Linked DNA regions of Homo sapiens: region 1 is linked to region 2. The links are contacts of gene promoters, found by promoter capture Hi-C in blood cells and fetal thymus (Javierre and others, 2016). All regions are on one chromosome and are shown on one strand. The core of a region is centred on a gene start or on the middle of the fragment in contact, and the rest is flanking DNA. Distances in the headings are between cores, read along the strand shown.

Region 1 (5,412 bases), core at 409-2,908, 360 kb after region 2:
AGCCACGCAGAACAGACCAAGGAGTAAAAATAAAATGTCTCCACTAAATTTCAGGTAGGGGAAGAACAGAATCTTTAGGGGATCACAAAAATAAAGATTAACTTGCATGGACAGCACCAAGTACACTGGAGAGGATTTAAAGGGAGGCACATTTTGGCTCAATTTGAGGTCACCTTTCCAATGAATGGAGCAGGCCACTTTGCTTGCCACGGAGATCAGATATCCCCCAGTGTCAGGGTGATTACATGGGCCTGTAATCTCTTACATGGGTCCGTAAACTCCTTTAAATCACAAGGGTCACATTAGGAGTTGAGATCCAATGACCTTTGAGGCTACTCTAAGATGCCCCCTTTGGAACTTCCGCTTCCTCATCTGTAAAGTGACCGCCTTACTCTGGGTGACTGCAAGGGGAACTTCAACAGCTATAAATTCTCAAAATCTCTGATTCTGCAGGCAAAGAGCTACAAAAAATAGGGGCGGGGGGGGGGGAGTGACATTTGGAAGGGAGCTGCGAATGTAATTAGTGATGGAAATGTGAATCTCTAGCTGCCTCTGGATGTCTTAGTTAGCAGATTCAAACACGGCCGAATCTTGGCTGAATAATTCCATTCCCTCCAGAGCAAATGGCAACAGTAGGGGTGTTGAAAAATCTGCCTCTGTTGGAGGGAGCAGCAAATGAATTGTTTGGGAGACAAAAGGCCGGGCTATGAATTGTGCTGCCAGCATCTGCTAGTCTTGAAATCTCCTTGGAACTTAGATTCTTTGTTTTTAAGCTGGGATGAAAGTGTCAACCACATAGGCATGCTTTTTTTTCTGAGGATTAACAAGTACAAATGTCCCTAGTCTTCCTGGCTGGGGTGGAGATCATCCAAAGAAATATGTTTTGAATCCAGGCTCCCCCTCTTGCTTGCTTTGTGACTTTGAGAATGTTATTTAACAGTGAGACTCCATCTTCTCCTTTATAAAGTTGGGGGGGATATTGTAGCATCTACTTCGTAGGGCATGCAAGGAATGCTGAGCTGAAGCACACAAAACGTTTTGCACACAGGGTGACTAGTATGGTTTCTACTGATAAGTAGCTTGGTGAGATTCTAAAAAACAGCGTACATCTTACCATATCATAGAAAGTGCACTGTGACCCGCACTGAACCTGGCTTTGTGACCCTTTCTCTCTTATTCAAGCATTCAGAAAGACAGCTTTGCAGCCTCCCACACGTGGGCTCTTAGCTTAGCCTTGGGTGCCAGTAGTTTGAGGTTGCATGAGGGTGGTGGGTGGGCACCCAGGTGAAGGGATGGGAAGGGGCTTGGGCAGAGCCCTCTGCTTGCCACTGATATCAGATGTCCCCCAATGTCAGGGCTATTACTTGGGCCCTCTGGAAACTTTTAAATCACAAGGGTCAAACTAAGCAGCTTTGCCTCCTTCTTCTCTGGCCTGGGGGACTTTGTTGGGGGAGTCAATTATCTGAGATCCTAAGAGGGGGTGGTTTCTCTTAGGCCTCTGGGAATTATGCAGGCAGGGTCTTTGGGGATATTCCGTCCTGCCTCCCCAAATACCCTCCAAGCTTATTTAGGACCAGGTCTATCCCGCATCCTTCTGTGCTCAGGTGGGGAGGGAGGGAAGGCAGCCACAGTGCAATAAATTGGAGATAAAGAACTCCAGACCAATTCTTATTTAGATGAGAGATGCTGTTCTAAAACTGTACGATATCAGTAGTTGGGGGTCTTTATAATATTCACATTCTTCATAAGCTTTTCTGCCAAATGAGTTATTTGGAGGATTAAAGAATTCCCAATGGCCAAAGGGAAGTTATGAAGATGAAAACTTGCATTTTAGATCATGAGAATTTTATTAATATGTTACTATTTTAAGCCACCATACAAATATCCTTTGTATTGATCTCAGTGTGATATACCAACTGAATAAATATGCCAATTTCTGCCAGTGAGCCGCACAGTATTTTTAACCTACTTTAAAATATGTGTTGTTTCCTATGGTTTTTTTAAAGTTTGGAGTTGATGATGAAAGTACTTCAATTTTTAAAGATTCTTCTTTCCAGAGAATATACATGTATATTTTAAACTATTAAATATAAAGCTTAATGGGGTGGGTGATTATTTTTTTAAGTTATAAATTAACAATTTTAAAAGGTGAAATGATTATTTTTGGCTTACGTATGCCATTGTATCAGAGAATACCACCTCAACAAAGGAAATTTGAGTAACATTTATTTGAATATATTCAAATATACATTCTTATGTTCAAATGTAAATGAAATATATTCTTATGTATTTTTTTCCCCTGGTCACTCCCTATTTGTTCTATTTAAGCTGTTTAGTGTATAATGCTGTGTACTTAAACAGGGCCCTGCCAGAAACTTCAGGATCTTCAAAAACTGGGGGAAATCCACAATGTATACATGTATCAAAACATCACATTGTATCCCATATATATGCAATTGTTATTTATCAATTAAAAAGAAAACAAAACCTTTAATAAGTAGTGTTGACCTTGTAGTCTACACTTTGAGAACTGCTAACCTAAGATAACTGAGTACGGTCCTCAGCACGTAGTAGACAATTGGTATGTGTTTAATGGATGAATCAATAAATGAATGATTCAGAAAAAAAAGAAGAGAGAAACAAAACAGAAAGCTGAAGCTTTTCACACATTGGTTAATTGAATCCTGAAGATCACAGTGGTACTATCACAATTTCATAGGTGGGGAAATTAGGATGGGAGAAGACAAATGGCTTGTTCAAGCGCTTTCAGTTGCTTCCAAACAGTTTGTCCTCTAATTCCTCTCTCCCTTTCTTCAAAATGGAAAAACAAAACAAAACAAAACCCGAAAAGATCCCTGAAGTCTCAAAGCCATTGGGATGATATTTAAAGACTGGTCTGAGTTCTTGTTTGGAGAGGCATTGAAGAACCAGAGACAATTATAATTGCTACTGGTGACACACGTTTGCGGAGAGAAATGCAAAGTTGCCATCTTGTAAAATGTAAAATGATACCAGTTATCACCCTTACTTTGTAGAGCGAGAAACCTTAGAAAATTCAGGCCCAGGGCAGGGAATGGGCCTATCTGGAAGTCACTTAAGCACGTCACAGTTTCAGGCCAGTGTTAGGAACAGGCAAAGAATCGCAGAACCCTAGCATTTCAAGAGACCTTGGCCCTCTCTTCTAACTACTGACCTGCAGCAGGAATCCTTGGCGTGGTCCCCTTCAGTGATAAGGAGACACTGTCTCCCAGGACAACCAGCTAGATCCTAATGGCTGTTAGAGAGTCCTTCCTGATTTGAAATGAAACCTGAGGTGGGACTTGGGGCCAGGGGTGGGTGGATGGATGTGGGATCTTGTCTCCCCAATAAACATTGCCGTTAACAGCCCGCACCTTCTTCTCCTGGTGTCCCAGGAGACAGGGAATTACCTGAAGTTGTAGCCTGGGGACACGCTGCTTTTCTCAGAAACGCTGTCGAGCCGGGTGAAGGAGTATTTGGGGATGCACTGGTCCCAGGCCTTGTCCAAGTCGCACACCCAGCCGATCTTAATGCCCAGAACTCCCCCCTGAAGAAACGGGCCGGGTATGAGCTTTCCCCTCGCCCTCTGACTCCCTGCTCTGGGCCAGGGTGGGGGTGGGGTGGAGGTGGTGACAAATGATTTCCTCCCATCCTCCAGGTGGGAGACGGAGGCAGGGAGAACGGAAAGTGACATGTCATATACTGCTCAGTAAAGAAGTGCTGTGGTGGCCGGGTGCGGTGATTCACGCCTGTAATCCCAGCACTTTGGGAGGCCGAGGCGGGCGGATCACGAGGTCAGGAGATCGAGACCATCCTGGCTAACACGGCGAACCCCTGACTCTACTAAAAATACCAAAAATTAGCCGGGCTTGGTCCCAGCTACTCCGGAAGCTGAGGCAGGAGAATGGCGTGAACCTGGGAGGCGGAGGTTGCAGTGAGCCGAAATCGCGCCATGCACTCTAGCCTGGGAGACAGATCGAGACTCTGTCTCAAAAAAAAAAAAAAAAAAAAAGGTTGTGGCTCGGATGCGAACATTGGAGCCTCTGAGTCCTAATTTTGGGATCTTCAGTGCTTTAGCTACAACACAGGAGAAAGTGGCCACAGGTCTACTTTCCCGTCGTTTGGGGCTTATTACAGATCTAAGGCCTTTGCCTGAGGTGAAGTGTGAAGATGGGAGTGGGAAACTGAGGCTTGAGGAAGGTGGACTCGGCGGAGGCGGGGGGCAAGATCGCTCTGCGCGGGGAAAGCAGAAAGGATTCAGGCACAAAGCCAGTGGCGGCCTGGGATGCTTCCACCAGGTGGCGCTGTCTCGCGGCGGCTCCTGGCCAGTGCCGGCCAAAGGGCCCTGAAATCTGGGAAAGGGCTGAAGGTGGGGAGTTTGGGGTCGCGGAAGAATGGCTAGGTCCTCACCGTGCGCGCCAGTTTGGCAAAATCCTGCCCCGCAAACTTGACCACGTCCCCTACCCGCAAGATGGGGCAGAAAGGGTCCTTGTCCGGGTGGAAGCGGCAGGTCTTCATGTCCCTGGCTGTCAGGTTGGGAAGGAGGTTTCCCCTGGGGAGGAGCAGAGAGAGAGGTCAGCCCAGGGTTCATGGGAAGATCGTCTTGTGCAATCTCTCCCCGCCTTCCGGAGCCCAGGCCTAGGGGGGATCTGAGCCCTCAGCCTTCATCTGGACCTCGCCATCTCCCTCCCCTCTTTCCTTTCCCTGCATCTTTCTGGTGCCCCATCACCGCCTTCCCTGTGTATCAGGGTGATGTATGTCGGTGACTAATCTCCAGCTGCCAGGCTGGGAGTTCGAGAGGGCAGGAATCATTCTTGGTTACTCTGTGCATTTTTTTTTTTTTGAGACGGAGTCTCGGTCTGTTGCCCAGGCTGGAGCGCGGTGGCATGATCTCGGCTCACTGCAACCTCTGCCTCCCAGGTTCAAGCGATTCTCCTGCCTCAGTCTCCCAAGTAGCTGGGATTACAGGGGTGTGCCACGGCGCCTGGCTAATTTTTTTTTTTTTTTTTTGGTACAGACAGGGTTTCACCATGTTGGCCAGGCTGGTCGCAAACTCCTGACCTCGTGATCCACCCTTCTCGGCCTCCCAAAGTGCAGGGATTACAGGCATTTGTCACTGCGCCTGGCCTAGTGCACTTCTGTAGTGACTGGCATTGCCCTCTGCACATGGCCAATGCCCACTGAGTAGCTGTGGAATGAGTAAGTCAATGAAGGGGGGCTGAACTGACTAAGAGAAAAGGGATTTCCACACATGGGCTAGATGTGGGGAAAAAGAATGGGACGAGACCGAAAGGGTTTCAACCGTTGAAGGCATCCTTGACCCACGACTAGGCCTAAGTTGTCCCTCTCCTACCCCAAGCAAAACTCCCGTTTGGGTCTGAGCCCCAAGGTGGG
Region 2 (5,398 bases), core at 1,490-3,989:
TTCCATTTTTCACCCACTCTTCTGACTTAGAATCACTAAAAATTAAAACGGCCTTTTTTAGCTTGGCGCAGTGGCTCACACCTGTAAATCCCAGCTCCTTAGGAAGCCAAGTCAGGAGGATCCCTTGAGCTCAGGAGTTCAAGACCAGCCTGGGCAACATCAAGAGACCCCACCTTGAAAAAAAATTTTTAAAAATTAGCCAGGTGTGTAGTGCATGCCTTTGGTTCCAGCTACCTGGAAAGCTGAGGTGGCAGGATGGCTTTGCCCAGGAGGTTAAGACTACAGTGAGCCATGATCACATCACTGCACTCCAGCTTGGATGACAGAGCAAGACCTTGTCTCAAAAAAAAATCCAAAAAACTAAAAACCCTGCCTTTTTCCTAAGGCCTTACCAGCTAAAGCTAGTCAACGTGACTTTGAAAAAAAAATCACCACAAAAGCTTATATTTGGACAAACTTTACACACAACCTACAATCTAGGAAAATAGATTGCTATTAATCTTCCCAATTGACTGCCCTCCAGACTCTAAAGAAACTAGTTTATAGACTATACCAGATATTAAGCTTTGTTTGTCTTGTTCCATAGAAATGTCTCTCTTATTAAATACCTGTTTGCCTACATCATATACAGAGGCCTAGCTTTGAGAACTCATCTACAATGCCATCTTCTGAAATGAGACACAACAATTTAATTGAACTGGACTATCCCCCAAAATGAGAGGCTGGTTTAATGGGATCCTTTGCCGCTCAATTACTAGCCCGATTTCTCTCTCCACAGACACCAACTCAGCTTATAGTGAAACTTCTAAGGAAGTTTCAGACAAAGGAAATAAAGAAGACCAGGGACTCACACCCCAAAATATGGCATCCTGTATGCTAATCATTTTAAATTAAAGGTCCCTGGAAACCAGCAGATACTGGAAGCAGCTTTACTCTGATAACTACCTTATCTGCCTAAAGTCCAGACCTGTCAAAGAAGACAACAATTACTTCTGGTCTCTTCCCTGAGTTTTCATTAACTTACTTCAGTACAAGAAGAAAGATGGAAGCCTGTCAACACACCTGGACAGATTTTTGTCAGAAACCATTGTCTGCTCTGCAGGCCCAACAGTCATTGTCCCAGGCCACTGTATGTTCTCCAGGCCACTGAATCACCCTAAAAATCATTTACGATCCACCTTAAAATCACCCACATTTTCCCATCTCCCATATTCCTATGAAAGAGGGTATATAAGCATCTGTACCCCACTGGGTCATTCTCCTGCAATTCCCTCATGCTATGCACGTTAAAATAAAATTTCTATGCCTTTCTCCTATTAATGTGCCCTTTGTCGGTTGATTTTTCAACAAACCCTCAGAGAGCAAAGGGGAAGCTTTTCCTTGGCCCCTACATGCTATATGGCAGAAGGGAAAGTGCTTTAAGTTTATGTTCCGAGCAGTCCCTCCACCCATACCAAGGAAGCACAGCAAGGAGCTTGGGACACTTCCCAAAGAAATCCCAAAGATTTCTTTACAACGTATTTTTTACAATTCCTTTACAGTAGCCCCCAAATTTTATCCACTTTCGCATCTTCAGGATCAAGCAGAGTGCCTAGAGTGTACACTCTAGAAATGTTTATTGAATTAAGAAGCGGCTGACAGTGTTGTGCAGGTAGTGTGGCCAGAAGAGTAGTTTCAAGTCCCAGGCACTCATTAGTTGTATGACCTGGGGCAAGTCACCTAAATATACCGAGATCCATTTCTTCACCAATGAAACAGGAATATTACTACTTGCCTTGTCTACCTTACTGGCTCCTCAGGAGGCTTTACATAATGAGCGGCACTGTAAAACGTTATACACGTGTATGTACAGTTTTGATAGGGCTGTTAATTAGTCTCAATGGTGAAACAGAAAGAAACCTGGACTCAACAGTCAAAAGCTGTTGGGCCGTTGTGCATGGGCTACGACTAACATGTTCCGTTTTCCCATCTTAAACACAAAGTTTAGACTCGATGATGGTTCGGACCCTGCACTTAATAGTCTCTAAGTCCGCTACAGGCTCGGAACCTCAGGTGTCCTCAGAGAGGTAAACCCCAGGGTTCCCAGATACACCTGCAAGGGCAGGGACAGTCAAGGTCGCGGGGTACTAACACGCGGGAGGCTCACCCAGTCAAAGTCACACGGGTTACCGTCTTCGCGTTGGGTGGGCAGACCGTGGCAGAGCGGCGGCAGTTTCCTCACGAGTAGGAAGGCAGCAGAGAGCAGGGCCGACAGAAGGTAGTAAGGTTGGGCGAGCCATCGTGAAAGTCGCGGCACCGAATACACGAGAGCAATTAGAGGTGCCAAGACCGCCATCTTTTCGGCCGTAACGGCCACTGCTCGCCGGCGTCGTAGGTCTCGCCCCGCCTCCCCCACCATAACGACTGCTATTGGGCTATATCGCAAACGTACGGCCTCTAAACCCGGATGTAGTTCTCTGAACGCTGTGGTAGGTCAGAACCCAAAAAAGAACTTAATATTTTATTGGTTAGTCTAGTTGTCGCTTTATCCGCCTAAGTCATTTTATTGGACTGTAGCAAGCAGAGCTAGCAGAAGACTCTAATAAGGTTAAATAGCACTTCCTGAACGTTCTCATAAGGCGACGGAAGTAGTTGTTGAAAAAAGGTAGGCGGTGCCTGAGGCATCCAATGACAAGCGGCTCCTTGAGAAAGGGCGGGGGGGTACTCCTTGAAAGCATTGTCCAATGAAAATTACCAACGGCAGACACGGAGACAGCGCCGGGGCGGAGGGTACGATGGAGAATTTCACGGCACTGTTTGGGGCTCAGGCTGACCCACCACCGCCCCCAACCGCACTCGGCTTCGGACCAGGAAAGCCTCCACCCCCGCCACCGCCTCCTGCGGGCGGGGGACCCGGCACGGCCCCGCCTCCCACCGCGGCCACGGCTCCTCCTGGCGCGGACAAGTCAGGAGCTGGCTGTGGCCCTTTTTACCTCATGAGGGAACTGCCAGGTGAGTACTCGGCCTTGCCAAAGCCAGCCAATCAAATCTTAGAGAGGAGGTGATGGGCGTGGCTCTCAGCCGGCTAGCGGAGGTGCGAGGTAACCTAGGCAACGCATACCCGGACTGTGGAGCCCTAAGTCGGAAGCGCTGTTAGGATTCACAAGCAGAGGGATGACTTGAATTCAACCAGGATGAGTTGAATTCAACCAAAGGGATGAATGGCGGGCAGGGGCGTAGTGCATCTCCGTTACTGTCTTTTGCACCATGTCCAGGCTGTGTCCCTGACACTGGTTTATGTCTCTCTAAAAAATGACCTAGGGCTGGGCGCGGTGGCTCACGCCTGTAATCCCAACACTCTGGGAGGCGGAGGCGGGCGAATCACCTAAGGTCAGGAGTTCGAGACCGGCCTGGCCAACATGATGAAACCCTGTCTCCACAAAAAACACAAAAATTACCTGGGCGTGGTGGCGTATACCTTTAATTCCAGCTACTCGGGAGGCTGAGGCGGGAGAATCGTTTGAACCCCGGGAGGCGGAGGTTGCAGAGAGCCGACATTGCTCCACTGCACTCCAGCCTGGGCGAACGAGACTCCGTCTCAAAACAAACAAAATCCAGGGTTTGAGTTTGGAACTCGAGAGGCCTGATTTAATATCTTTGGGGACCCAAAGTTTTAGTTACAGGTCTCCCACAGACTTGCTATTGGTTTGGGGCAAGTTGCCATTCTTCCTTCTAAGGTTCCGGCATTTCCTGGTCTGATCAAAAAAGGGATAAGAATCGAACCAAACTCTTCATTCAAAAAATTATTTTGTTGAGTACCTATGTACCAAGCACTTTTCTAAATGCTGGAGACAGTTGTGAACAAGACTGACAAGATGCTTGCCTTTTTTGGGATGTACATTTCAGTGGAGGAGGCATTGTAAACAAGATAATGTCAGAAAGTGGTTAATGCTAGGAAAAGAAAACATGATAAAAATTGAAGGTGGCCAGGCGCGTTGCTCACGCCTGTAATCCCAGCGCTTTGGGAGGCCGAGGCAGAATCCCTTGAGCCCAGGAGTTTGAGACCAGCATGGGCAACATGGCGAGACCCAGTCTCTACAAAATATACAAGATTAACCGGGCGTGGTAATGCATGCCTGTAGCCCCAGCTACTCAGGAGGCTAAGGGAGGAGAATCGCTTGAACACAGGAGGTCGAGGCTGCAGTGAACCAAGATTGTGCCACTGCACTCCAGCCTGGGCAACAGATGAGACCCTGTCTCTTAAAAAAAAAAAATTGAGGGGCAGAACTACTTTAGCTAGAGTGGCCAGAGATGCTCTCTTCACATAGCTAACATTTGAACTAAAATGTAAGCATAGACAAAGGGCCAGCCATGTATGGACAGGAGGGAGAGACAATTGTAGATACAAGAAATGAGGTCAGAAACCCTGATGTGAGAAAAAGCTTAGAATATCTGAGGGACAGAAAATCAGTTGGACTCCAGTGAAGTGAACAAAAGGAAAGAGTGTTAGGGAGAGAGATGAAGCTGGGAGAGTTAGGCAGAGGCTTTTATAAAGCAGTAAAGGCATTTAGATTGTAAATACAAAAGGAAGCCATTTAAAAAATTTTTTTATAGACACAAGGTCTCACTGTGTCACCCAGGCTGGACTGCAGTGGTATAATCATAGCTCACTGTAACCTCCAGTTCCTAGGCTCATGCTGTCGTCCCACCTCAGCCTTCCAAGTAGCTAGGACTACAGGCATGCACCACCACAGTTGGCTAACTTAAAATTTTTTTGTAGAGACTGGGTCTTACTGTGTTGCGCAAGCTGGTCTTGAACTCCTGGCCAACAGCAGTCCTCCCGCCTTGGCCTCCCAAAGTGCTAGGATTATAGGTCTGAGCCACTGTGCCCAGCCAAGGAAAGCCATTTTAACATAGGAAGTTGGTCAAATGCACTTGTTTATAATCATTTAAGCAGCCACATGACAAATAGAAAGTGGGGAAATTAGTCAGAAGTTACTGCTCAGTAGTCCAGGAAAGATAATGGTTTGAACCAGAGCATAGCAGGGCATAGAGAAGTAAATGGATACAGGATGTTAGAGGTAGAGCTGACAGGGTTGAAAAATTGAATACAGGGCCAGGCGCTGTGGCTCACGCCAGTAATCCCAGCACTTTGGGAGGCTGAGGTGGGAGGATTGCTTGAGCCCAAAAGTTTGAGACCAGCCTGGGCAACATAATGAGACCCCATCTCTACAAAAAATAAAAATAAATTAGCTAGGGATAGCAGCATGCACCTGTAGTCTCAGCTACCTAGGAAGATGAGGTGGTAGAAATCACTTGAGCCCAGGAAGTTGAGGCTGCAGTGAGCCATGATTGTGCCACTGCACTCCAGCTTGGATGATAGAGGAAGACCCTGTCTCAATTAAAAATATATATTGTA

What was found. The method cuts DNA at HindIII sites, captures the fragments that hold promoters and counts their contacts. A CHiCAGO score of 5 or more calls a contact.
Region 1: a fragment that was not itself captured here is called in contact with the fragment with the promoter of MED19 in region 2 in 2 of 17 cell types (activated CD4 T cells and M1 macrophages); the score reaches 7.3 in activated CD4 T cells.

The regions. Positions count from the first base shown.
Region 1 is chr11:57,348,915-57,354,326 of GRCh38, reverse strand. It overlaps P2RX3 (purinergic receptor P2X 3), which reads right to left. Exons shown (of 12, transcript NM_002559.5): 7 at 4,429-4,570; 8 at 3,429-3,565. Among named protein-coding and RNA genes, the nearest start is that of P2RX3, 13 kb to the right of the region's middle. RefSeq lists an enhancer at 3,999-4,498. The HindIII fragment of the contact is 187 bases long and covers 1,565-1,751 here.
Region 2 is chr11:57,709,556-57,714,953 of GRCh38, reverse strand. MED19 (mediator complex subunit 19) reads left to right here and starts at 2,739. Exons shown (of 5, transcript NM_001317078.4): 1 at 2,739-2,991. The coding sequence starts at 2,775. It overlaps TMX2 (thioredoxin related transmembrane protein 2), which reads right to left and starts at 2,361. Exons shown (of 8, transcript NM_015959.4): 1 at 2,147-2,361. The coding sequence starts at 2,335. It overlaps TMX2-CTNND1 (TMX2-CTNND1 readthrough (NMD candidate)), which reads right to left and starts at 2,431. Exons shown (of 21, transcript NR_037646.1): 1 at 2,147-2,431. RefSeq lists a silencer at 2,769-3,108. The HindIII fragment of the contact is 3,048 bases long and covers 1,376-4,423 here.